Linked DNA regions of Homo sapiens: regions 2 and 3 are each linked to region 1. The links are contacts of gene promoters, found by promoter capture Hi-C in blood cells and fetal thymus (Javierre and others, 2016). All regions are on one chromosome and are shown on one strand. The core of a region is centred on a gene start or on the middle of the fragment in contact, and the rest is flanking DNA. Distances in the headings are between cores, read along the strand shown.

The links. Contacts are between HindIII fragments. The CHiCAGO score rates a contact against its expected background, and 5 or more counts as called.
Region 2: a contact is called between a fragment that was not itself captured here and the fragment with the promoter of RNF217 in region 1, in 1 of 17 cell types (M1 macrophages). The highest score is 5.0, in M1 macrophages.
Region 3: a contact is called between a fragment that was not itself captured here and the fragment with the promoter of RNF217 in region 1, in 3 of 17 cell types (M0 macrophages, M2 macrophages and M1 macrophages). The highest score is 6.4, in M0 macrophages.

What each region holds. Positions count from the first base shown.
Region 1 is chr6:124,960,983-124,964,092 of GRCh38, reverse strand. RNF217 (ring finger protein 217) reads right to left here and starts at 1,656. Exons shown (of 6, transcript NM_001286398.3): 1 at 667-1,656. The coding sequence starts at 1,548. It overlaps RNF217-AS1 (RNF217 antisense RNA 1), which reads left to right and starts at 1,066. Exons shown (of 7, transcript NR_026876.1): 1 at 1,066-1,270. The HindIII fragment of the contact is 3,639 bases long and covers 378-3,110 here.
Region 2 is chr6:125,264,647-125,267,928 of GRCh38, reverse strand. No RefSeq gene overlaps it. Among named protein-coding and RNA genes, the nearest start is that of HDDC2, 36 kb to the left of the region's middle. The HindIII fragment of the contact is 1,857 bases long and covers 1,034-2,890 here.
Region 3 is chr6:125,293,345-125,296,408 of GRCh38, reverse strand. All of the region lies in intron 3 of HDDC2 (HD domain containing 2), which reads left to right. Among named protein-coding and RNA genes, the nearest start is that of HDDC2, 7.1 kb to the left of the region's middle. The HindIII fragment of the contact is 1,210 bases long and covers 1,116-2,325 here.

The sequences.
Region 1 (3,110 bases), core at 407-2,906:
GAGGAAAGTTTCACCAGTGCTTGTTCTGAGAAACCTCTTAGCCTCTCTTTGCTTTGTTTTGCTCTTTCTGTTTTGCTTCCCTCTTAAAGAGTGCTGGCTTAAAACCTCAGTGAAAGAAAAGTACTTCAACTTTACTGTGGAAAAAGGAAACTGAAAAGTAGGCAAAGGCCAAGGGATACATTTTTTTAAACATTCACTCTTTCCTGGAATATACAAATGAAGCAAAATTACAAATTCATGTATTATGGGTCTGAAATATTTATTCCAATTCTTTTCTCCACCAGCTCCATAAATATTTATTCTATGCCCACTGCTTGTTAGTTTCTGGGATACCAGGCCGATGAGGCAGTCTCTTCCTCTCCTCCTTTGAGCAAGCTTGTGCTTGCAATCCTGTATAAGAAATAAGAGGAGGGCAACAACTTGTATCTTGTGCCTTCTACACATGCCAACCATAGCCTGAAGTTCACAGCAAAGTTAAATTCCAGTTAAGTAAACCAGTGAGGTCATAATACACTTAAATAACAACTGAGACGTGAGAAACTAACAGAGATCCTCAGTAAGTGTGTCGGTCACCTCTTCGCGCGAGCAGGGAGATCAGATCGAGAGCAGGACCTCCTCGCCAGTGATTTGGAATGATAAATGGGGAAGAGAAGGGGGTGAAGTTACCTGGGCGCTCAGGTAGACTTTGAGGCACTCCTCGCACACGGCCTTCTTGCAGCAAGGCAGGGGCTTGATGGGCTTGTCTTCCAGGCACACCCGGCACATCAGCACCATGAGGGGCACATAGGGATCCCCTACACCGCCCAGGCCAGAGTAGGGTGGAGCTCCCAACAGGCTGGGCATGGAGAACGGCTCGGGCGCCAGGTAGAACTCCAGCTCGATGCTGCCGCCGTCGGGGGAGAGGGAATCCGTTGGGAGGGACAGTCGGGGGCTGGGGAAGGAAGAGCGGGTGCTGGGAGGGTTCAACACTGGCGGAGCCCCAGGTGGCGACGCGGGCGGCGAGAGCTGCTCCGAGGCGGGGGCCTCGGGCAGGTCGCTCTCCACGCAGTACACGGAGCAGAAGACTTGTCTCTTGGCGAGGGACGGGCGCCGCTGACCCAGCACGTCCAGGACCAGTCCGTCGGCGGCCCCCACGCGGGTCCTGGGCTCCAGCTCTTCGCCGGGGGGCGCCTCCTGCTGTTCATCCCCTCCCTCTTTTCGATCCCCAGCTTCCTCCTCTTCCTCCTCCAGCTCCAACTGCAGTGGCAAGGTCTGGGGATTGAGAGGCCCGGTGAGTGCCAGTCCCGCAGGCTGCGCCGGTGCTCGGCTCTTACTCCAGCCCGGGGGCCCCAGGCTCCTCGCGGGCTCTGGGGCGCTGGTGTCCGCGCAGCCCCAGTCGCTTCCGCAGCCACCGCCGCTCGGCTCCGCGGAGGCGGCGCGCAGCGGGGGCGCCCGGGCGCTGTCCCCCTGAGGCCTCGGGGGCTCAGGGTGGCCCGCAGTGCCACTGGCCAGGGTCTGCGACTCCTGGGGCCCGCCGCCGCCGCTCACCGTGCTCTGCTCCTCGCCCATCGCCGCCCGCGGCCCGCGCCGCCGCTGCCCATCCAGCCGCCGGGACCCCCACCCGGCGCCCGCGGGCAGCGGGGGCAGTGGCTCGGCTCGACTCGCGGCTCCGCTTCTGCTTCCGGGTCCTTCCTCCTGGGCTGGGACGCCCCAAGTCCCCTCCGGGGAGCCCGTGCTCCGAGGCTGCGGCGCGTGGGGAGCCTGGCCCGGCCCGCCGCTCCTCCTCGTACTCTGGCGCGGCGGGGCACCGCCTCGGGGGCGCCGAGGGCCGCTCGCTCTGGGCTCGGGCGCGCCCGCCCCACATGCAGCTCGGGGCGGCGCCGCAGCCCCAGCGAGCCCCAGGCGGGACAGAGGGGTCTGGGAGGAGACGGCCGTCAGTCCCGCGCCATCACCGGTCCCGGCTGCCGGACGCGCGGCCCGAGGGCGGTGGTCAAAGGGTCGAGGGGCCTGTGGCGCCGCCGCGGCGCGCACCAGGAGGTGCAGCCGGAGCGCTGGCCAGCCGCAGGGCCCCTGGGGGAGAGGCCGGAGCGGGCGACCTCCCTCTCCCCGCGCTTCACCTACAGCCCTCCTCGCCGCCCCTCACCCCACCCCTTTGGCGCACACCTCCCCACACGTACACACGCGCGCAGGCACCCGCGCACACACACACGCACACCCTGAGTGGGTGTGATCTAAGAGCTGAGATGCGCTTTCTCGCCCGGAGTTCACACTCAGCCTCAACAAAACCCTCAGAGCAGGCAGGCTCCCCTTTGGTCTCCGCATTCAGTAGAACTTCCTACAAAACTACACTCAGCTCTGGAATTAGTAAACGCTGGCTATTTAGGATGTCGAGTTCAGAGAAATAATGCTAAGGATTATGAATTCTAAATGCTGTATATTACAACTCTGTTTTTCTGCCTAGTGGAGTAGGAAGAATCTTCGAAACCCATAAATAATCGAAAAAGCACTTTCGATCTACTCCTCCAACTGGAATCCTTAGAAGAGTTGATAACTAATTTAAAATTTCTCTCTTTTTCTTCGCCTACAGTGTTCTCTTAGAAGTTTTTTTTTTTAACCCTTTTCAGCATTCCAAAATGGATAGCACAAGGTGGAAAAATGTCCTGACCTAATTAATAAACTGGATCATTAGTGGAAATCATGGGCAGTTTCATTAGCATAACCATATTTATCCTCAAAACTGTTTCCAAAACAACAATTATATGTGAGCCAGGACTTAATTATGTGTTGATCTATCTTTATTTTACAGGAAGTATTACTCACCCAGACACTGGTGTTTTAGTTCCCTAAAGCCAGTGAAAACATTTTTGGGAAGCCAGCCCTTGTTTTGTTTTTTTTCTCCTGAGAGGGAATTCAATTTACACATTCATGTAATAGCAAGGAACTGTAAAGTGTGTAGAATTTTATTTTTTAATCTCGAAGTTGTTATTGGGTTGTTCTAAAATATTTTCCAAATCAGATGCAAATGATACAAAGGTGACTAGCGATGCAAACTAAGAAAGCAGTGTAATGCCAAAGAACATTTCCATCATATATGTGTGTCTGAGGCTCAGTTGCAAGCAAAGGTATGAATT
Region 2 (3,282 bases), core at 713-3,212, 300 kb before region 1:
TGACTAAAGCACAACGATTTACCTTACACTCTACCCCCTAGGCCAAGGGAAGTCTTTCAGGTAGGGATACATGCCCATAGGGCAGAGCCCTGGATCCATAACCCACAACAATACAGAGAGCGACAGCTCACTACTAGGATCCCAGCTATACTAGTTATGACTTTTAGGGCCCAGCATAGGCCAGAGACCAGGGATGCCCACCGTCTCTGCAGGGGGCCATCAATAAGGCTCTCAACCAACTTAATTTCCCATGAGACCCCTTGCAGAACTGCTGTTATGTTCTGCCAATTGTCAGGGATAAAGGTACAACATCGTGTTCCTAAAAGGATACAGGTGCCTCCTTGGGCAGCAGTTAGTATGTCTAAGGCCATTCAGTTTTGCAACACCACCTCAGCTTACTCCTGACTAAAGCACAGCCATTTTCCCTACACTGTTTTCCCCTTATGGATTGGTATTTTACCAGCTATTACATAATTCTCAATGCCCTTGTATTTGAAAAATGTTGATCCACCTCAAAGCCTTGTGGTGGTGATACATGCTCTGGGGGAAATGACTGATGAAGCGCTTTGTAAAAAAAAGCATCTCTGTACTCAGCATTTTCATTTAAGCAATTTGTCAGTCTTCACATTCAAAGGTGAAATGGGATGATTTCTGTGAAAGACATGATTTTGTCATTTTTGGTTTGCTTTAATTTATATATATATATAATGGATGGATATGTATTATATATATTATATATATAATGTGTGTGTACATGAATATACCCTCTGGTGTGAACTGAAAGTCAAGCAGAAATGTAGCATAAAGAATTTTACCATGCTTAGAAGTTATCAAAAGTAGCCATAAGATTTTGCCAAATATTGTTATAGTTTGAAATTACATTTGAATGCTAGGTTTGAAGAAGTTGTTTCACATTTCATATTAAGTCACTTTTCAACCTTACCACCATCTTCCTTTATCACACTACTTCCACTCAAATTGAATACTAAGTGAGAGGAGGACGATGGGGTTGATGTTGAACAACTTTAAAGCTTACACGTAATTTTGGAACAATGAACAGTGACAGAAGAGCCGTGTAGATCCCTGGGTTCCCTCTACACTGGCCACTGTGAACGGCATGGCATATCATGAAGACACATCCTAAAGCATGCACTTTGTTCTGTTTGCTATGGTTCAAGAACAGATTTCTAACAAAATGTGTAATTTAGAGTAAGATATGCAGATTGCATTGCTAAAATGACCTGCCAATAGTTGTAATCTTTTTTTGAGACAGGGTCTCATCTCTCTGTCACCCAGGCTGGAAGGCAGTGGCAAGATCTCGGCTCACTGCAGCCTCTGCCTCCCTGGTTCGAGAGATTCTCCCACCTCAGCCTCCCAAGTAGCTGGGATTACAGGGATGTGCCATCAAGCACAGCTAATTTTTGCATTTTTAGTAAAGACGGGGTTTCACCGTGTTGGCCAGGCTGGTCTCGAACTCCTGACCTCAGTTGATCCACCCACCTTGGCCTCCCAAAGTTCTGGGATTACAGGCATGAGCCACCATGCCCAGCCAATAGTTGTAATCTTTATGTGATGTGAGTTGTGAGATAAAGTAGCACTGTAAATTTACAAATATGTTCATCATAGCAACTGTGTTTAAAATGTGGTAAATCGTTAAATTTCAGAATGGCTTACTTTTTTTAAAAGCTAGTTTGTTTTGTAATCACAATTGCATCAGAATTTTTGATAATTGAAAGAATTGACGCCTGAGCCACTCGGGGATTAGGCCTGCACAGTCAAAAATCCGATTCTAGGTTGGGAGTTGTGGCTCACGCCTGTAATCCCAACACTTTGGGAGGCCAGGGCAGGTGGATCACAAGGTCAGGAGTTCAAGACCAGCCTGGCCAAGATGGTAAAATCCTGTCTCTACTAAAAATACAAAAATTAGCCAGGCGTGGTGGTAGGTGCCTGTAATCCCAGCTACTCGGGAGGCTGAGGCAGAGAATTGCTTGAACCCAGGAGGCAGAGGTTGCAGTGAGCCAAGATTGCACCACTGCACTCCAACCTGGGCAACAGGGTGAGACTCAGTCTCAAAAAAATAAATAAATAAATAAAACAAAAATCTGATTCTAACTTTGGACACCCCCTAAACCTAACTACCAACAGCTACTGTTGACCATAAGCCTTGTTGATAACATAAATGGCCAATTAACACATATTTTTATGTTATATGCATTACATGTGGTATTCTTACAATAAAGTAAGCTCTGGAAACAAAATGTTAAAAGAAAAACAACAGAGATAATATATGTACTATTCATTAAGTGGAAGCAGATGATGATAAAGGTCTTTATCCTCATTGTCTTCATGTTGAGTAGGCTGCAGAAGGGGAGAGGTTGGTATCACTGTTTCAAGGGGTGCCAGAGGCAGAAGAAAATCTGCACATAAGTGGACCCTCACAGTTCAAACTCCTGTTGTTCAAGGGTCAACTGTACATTTTCTGTGGAGGTATCCTTTCATACACACATGGTGTTGACCTGAAGTCATTTTGGTTTGTTAGTAAAAGGTTATGTCCATTGTGTGCAATTACTTTTTAGGACTTGTGAAACACTTTAAACTACTGCTTGTGAACTGAGCCTCACTAGATGTAATTGAGAAGCTCAGCAATCAGTCCCATCAGGATGATCTTGCACACCCATGGTGAGGGAGGACCAGGCAGCTCTTAGTGATGCTCCTGAAGCTAAGAGTAGGCTCACTGCCTAAACTAGGTAAGACTGCCCACCTACCAACAAGTGTTTGATTTATCTAATCTGAGTTATTCACACACATTTTATGACAAAAATAAAAAATGCTACTTATGCCATGGCCATTATGAATATCACTTCTAGGTCAGAGTGAATAATGAAAAGCTTTTAGATGAATAGAGATGATGTGCATAAGATTCTTACCAAACTAATGAAATCAGAATTTTGATGAATGGAATAAAATAAATAGCTAAAATGTGTTGGAAGCTTTAAGATATTACCACAAGTTTTCTTGATTGTTTTTCTATCCAATTCTAATATTGTGTTTTCAGATTATAAGGCTGAGACTATGGTGTGCAGAAATTGGTTGGTGAACGGAGATATTTGTTTAAAGTACCATAACTTTATCTAATACAATGCGGTGTGCTGAATATGGTAAAAAAAGAAGGTGGCAGGGAGTTTTCACAAGTTAGCCACTTCACACTCAACAGGCAGCTATAGATTGGGCACAGAGACTGAGTACTTGTGTGCTGTGGTGGGCGAGCCAGCACGGCCTGAG
Region 3 (3,064 bases), core at 471-2,970, 330 kb before region 1:
CATTTGCCCTTGCTGGCTACATCAGTGAGCCTCTAAACTAAAGTAGGAGGGAGAAAAAATACAGTGGTCCCTCAGTATCTATGGGGTATTGGTTCCAGGACCCCCATAGATAACCAAATCTGCAGATGCTGAAGATAAAATGGTGTCGTATTTGTATATCACCTGCACATACCCTTCCATATACTTTGTCATCTCTGTATTACTTATGATACCTAATATAATGCAAATGCTATGTAAATAGTTGATAACACTGTATTGTTTTTTATTTGTATCTTTTTTTTTAATTTTTTTTTTTATCTATGGTTGGTTGAATCCGTTAATGCAAAACCCACAGATATGGAGGACCAACTATACTTGATAAACCTGGAAGGCTGATTGTTTTGGAGAAAAGTAGGTATTAAGATGAAAGGGAGAATGAGGGCATAGAAGAAACAAATTTAGAAAGGAGCCAAAAGCAATACTTGTAGTCTGGCCTCATTCCTAAACATATTAACATACACTTGATATTATGCAGGTTGATAATGCAGGTTGATAAATGATGTCTGATAAGGATCACTGTGATCTAGTGAGGTGGAACTTGAAGCTGGAATATAATGGTGGCAGGTCATATTCCTTTGCAAAGGGGAAACCTTATTGAAACAGAGGGCAGAGTCGTGGTATGCCTGTGTCTGGGAGGGTTAAAGTTGCTAAAGAACTTGGAGATTACAAAGAGAATGGAACTTTATCATAGAGTAAGTATGACAAGAAGGAGAAAATGAAAAACACAGCAAACATTTATAGAGTGCTTATTATGTGGCAGATTTATAAAGTGCTTATTATGTGCCAATAATAAGCACTTTATATGTGTATTAACTGTTTAATCCCTATGATCCCTTTAGGTAGGTACCAATATTTAACCCCACTGTGTAGATGAGAAACCTGAAGGACAAAGAGGTCAAATGACTTGCTCAGGGTTCCACAGCTAGTATTAATAAATGGCGAGCCGGGTTTGAAACCCAGTCTGGATCTGGTCTTCAGTTGACTACTACACTCTTCAGCCTCATCAGTGTCTGAATGATGAATAATACCTTCCAGTTACTTGTCACAAAACTGACACAAAATATTTGCTGAAAGCTTCATTCAGCTCGGCACTTTAGGCAGATTTTTGACATATTTTGCTAACAGAGGAAGAGGCTAGGGAAGCTGTCACTCTAAATCTATGACTGAACAACAAGGTGAAACTCAGTATAGAAGTGGAAGTGTCAGGGCTCATCGCTTGCCAGGAAGGGAAAGGCTGGCATACTCAGCTGTGTACCCTGGACCTCAGCCATGTTGATTTCAGAGGGTTCAATTAAAAAGGCATGATTCTGGCATGTGCTGCCAAACAAAGAATATTAACTCTCTACAAGGTTTCAAAAATGCTATTCTGATTGTGTGATTAACAAATATCAATCAGCCTAGATTCAGAAAATCATAGTTCAGTTTCAGGAAGAGAGCAACAACGTATTTGCTGTTTTGTTTTTTAAAGAATATGGTGATTTTGAACAAAAAGAAGCCTATTAATAACTTAGTAATTGGATGTGATCACCAAAAAGCCAATTCAGTCTTACACTGCACTTAAAGGAATATAGTATCTAGCATGAGGAAGGTGATGATTCCATTTTCTTCCACCTTGGTCAGATCATACATATATCACTGTATTCAGTTCTAGGTGTGTCATTTTAAAGAGAATAAAATAGTCTCCTGTCAGAGCAGGACTTTCATGTTTGCATTCTACAGTTGAGATGTTCATATACCTGTATGTACATATGATTTAGTTCATTCTTTTCAACTGGAAGTAATTGGCAAACTTGTGTTTCTGCAATAGTGTAGAGAAAAGGAATCTATAAAGACACAGTTAATTTGTGAAAATATAAAGTATTTTCTCAAGTATTCTTGCTGAAATTTATGAAAAAGAAACAAGGGAGAATGCATGTACAACATAAGCTAAATTCCTTCCTACTAAGGGTAGTGTGATGCTACCACTCTGTAACTGAACAAGCCATTCAAGATGGTGATGTTATTTATAAGAGTGGATTGTTGACATTGGCAAATGTGGTTTGCTCTGGAAGTGGTTGTATTCTGTAACATTTTTTTTCTCCCAGTAATAAATAAATATACACACAAATGTCCAATTTTATTTTCACTGCTTTCCTGCAACTCACTATTTTATTTTATGTAAGACCTTTATATTGCCAAAAATGGTTTTTATAGCCATATTCCGTTCAAAGAGCCTAACCTCTGTGGTTAGAAGAACTGAGGCTGATTAAAAGGTATGGGATGAAGGTGGTGAAGGAATTTGAAGCTTTTTGAGAGTACTGGAGTAATTCAGAAATAAAGGAAGGATACTGGAGTAACTCATAAATAAAGGAGAAGACTGGAGGATAAGGGTAGCTCCTGGGATCTTTGAGACCAGAAAGTACAGAAAGCCTAGAAGTACAGGACACCCTCTACTCTTATTTTGTCTCTGCTTTTCATTAGGTTTTGGCTAACTCTCAACGCTTCTCCTTGTGGTGGGGAATATGGCTTCTCTCCTAGCCTCTGCTTGACAAATGCAGATGGCCCCTGAATGCCTGGTTTGAATTATAAGATTATCTCTTAGACCAGTCACTGTGGCCACAGATAGTCCAGCCCAGCGGGGTCACTGTCCACCTGTTTGACGTTGTGTTTGTGGGTTAGAGAGGAAAGCAGGAGGGATGGGTTAGGTGTGGTAGAAGAACTACAGGGAAAATTTTCAGCTTGATATAAGAAAATAATTTCTGCCAGTACTGTCTAAGGCAGCCTCTTGAGGTACTAGGCTCCCTACCAATGCACACATTTTTGGAAAGAGGATAGAACTGTTCCATGATGCTATTGAAGGGTTCAGATACTACATGGATGGTTTAGCTAATTGCCGTTTAATATCCCTTTTCAGCCTGTGAGTCTGTGAGCCTACAAAATTCTATCATGTAACTTCGTTTATGTTAATGGCAATAATCGCTCATTTGTATTGTACTTTACATCTTGCAATAAAAACATGTTAACAATAGAAAATGAATATACAAAA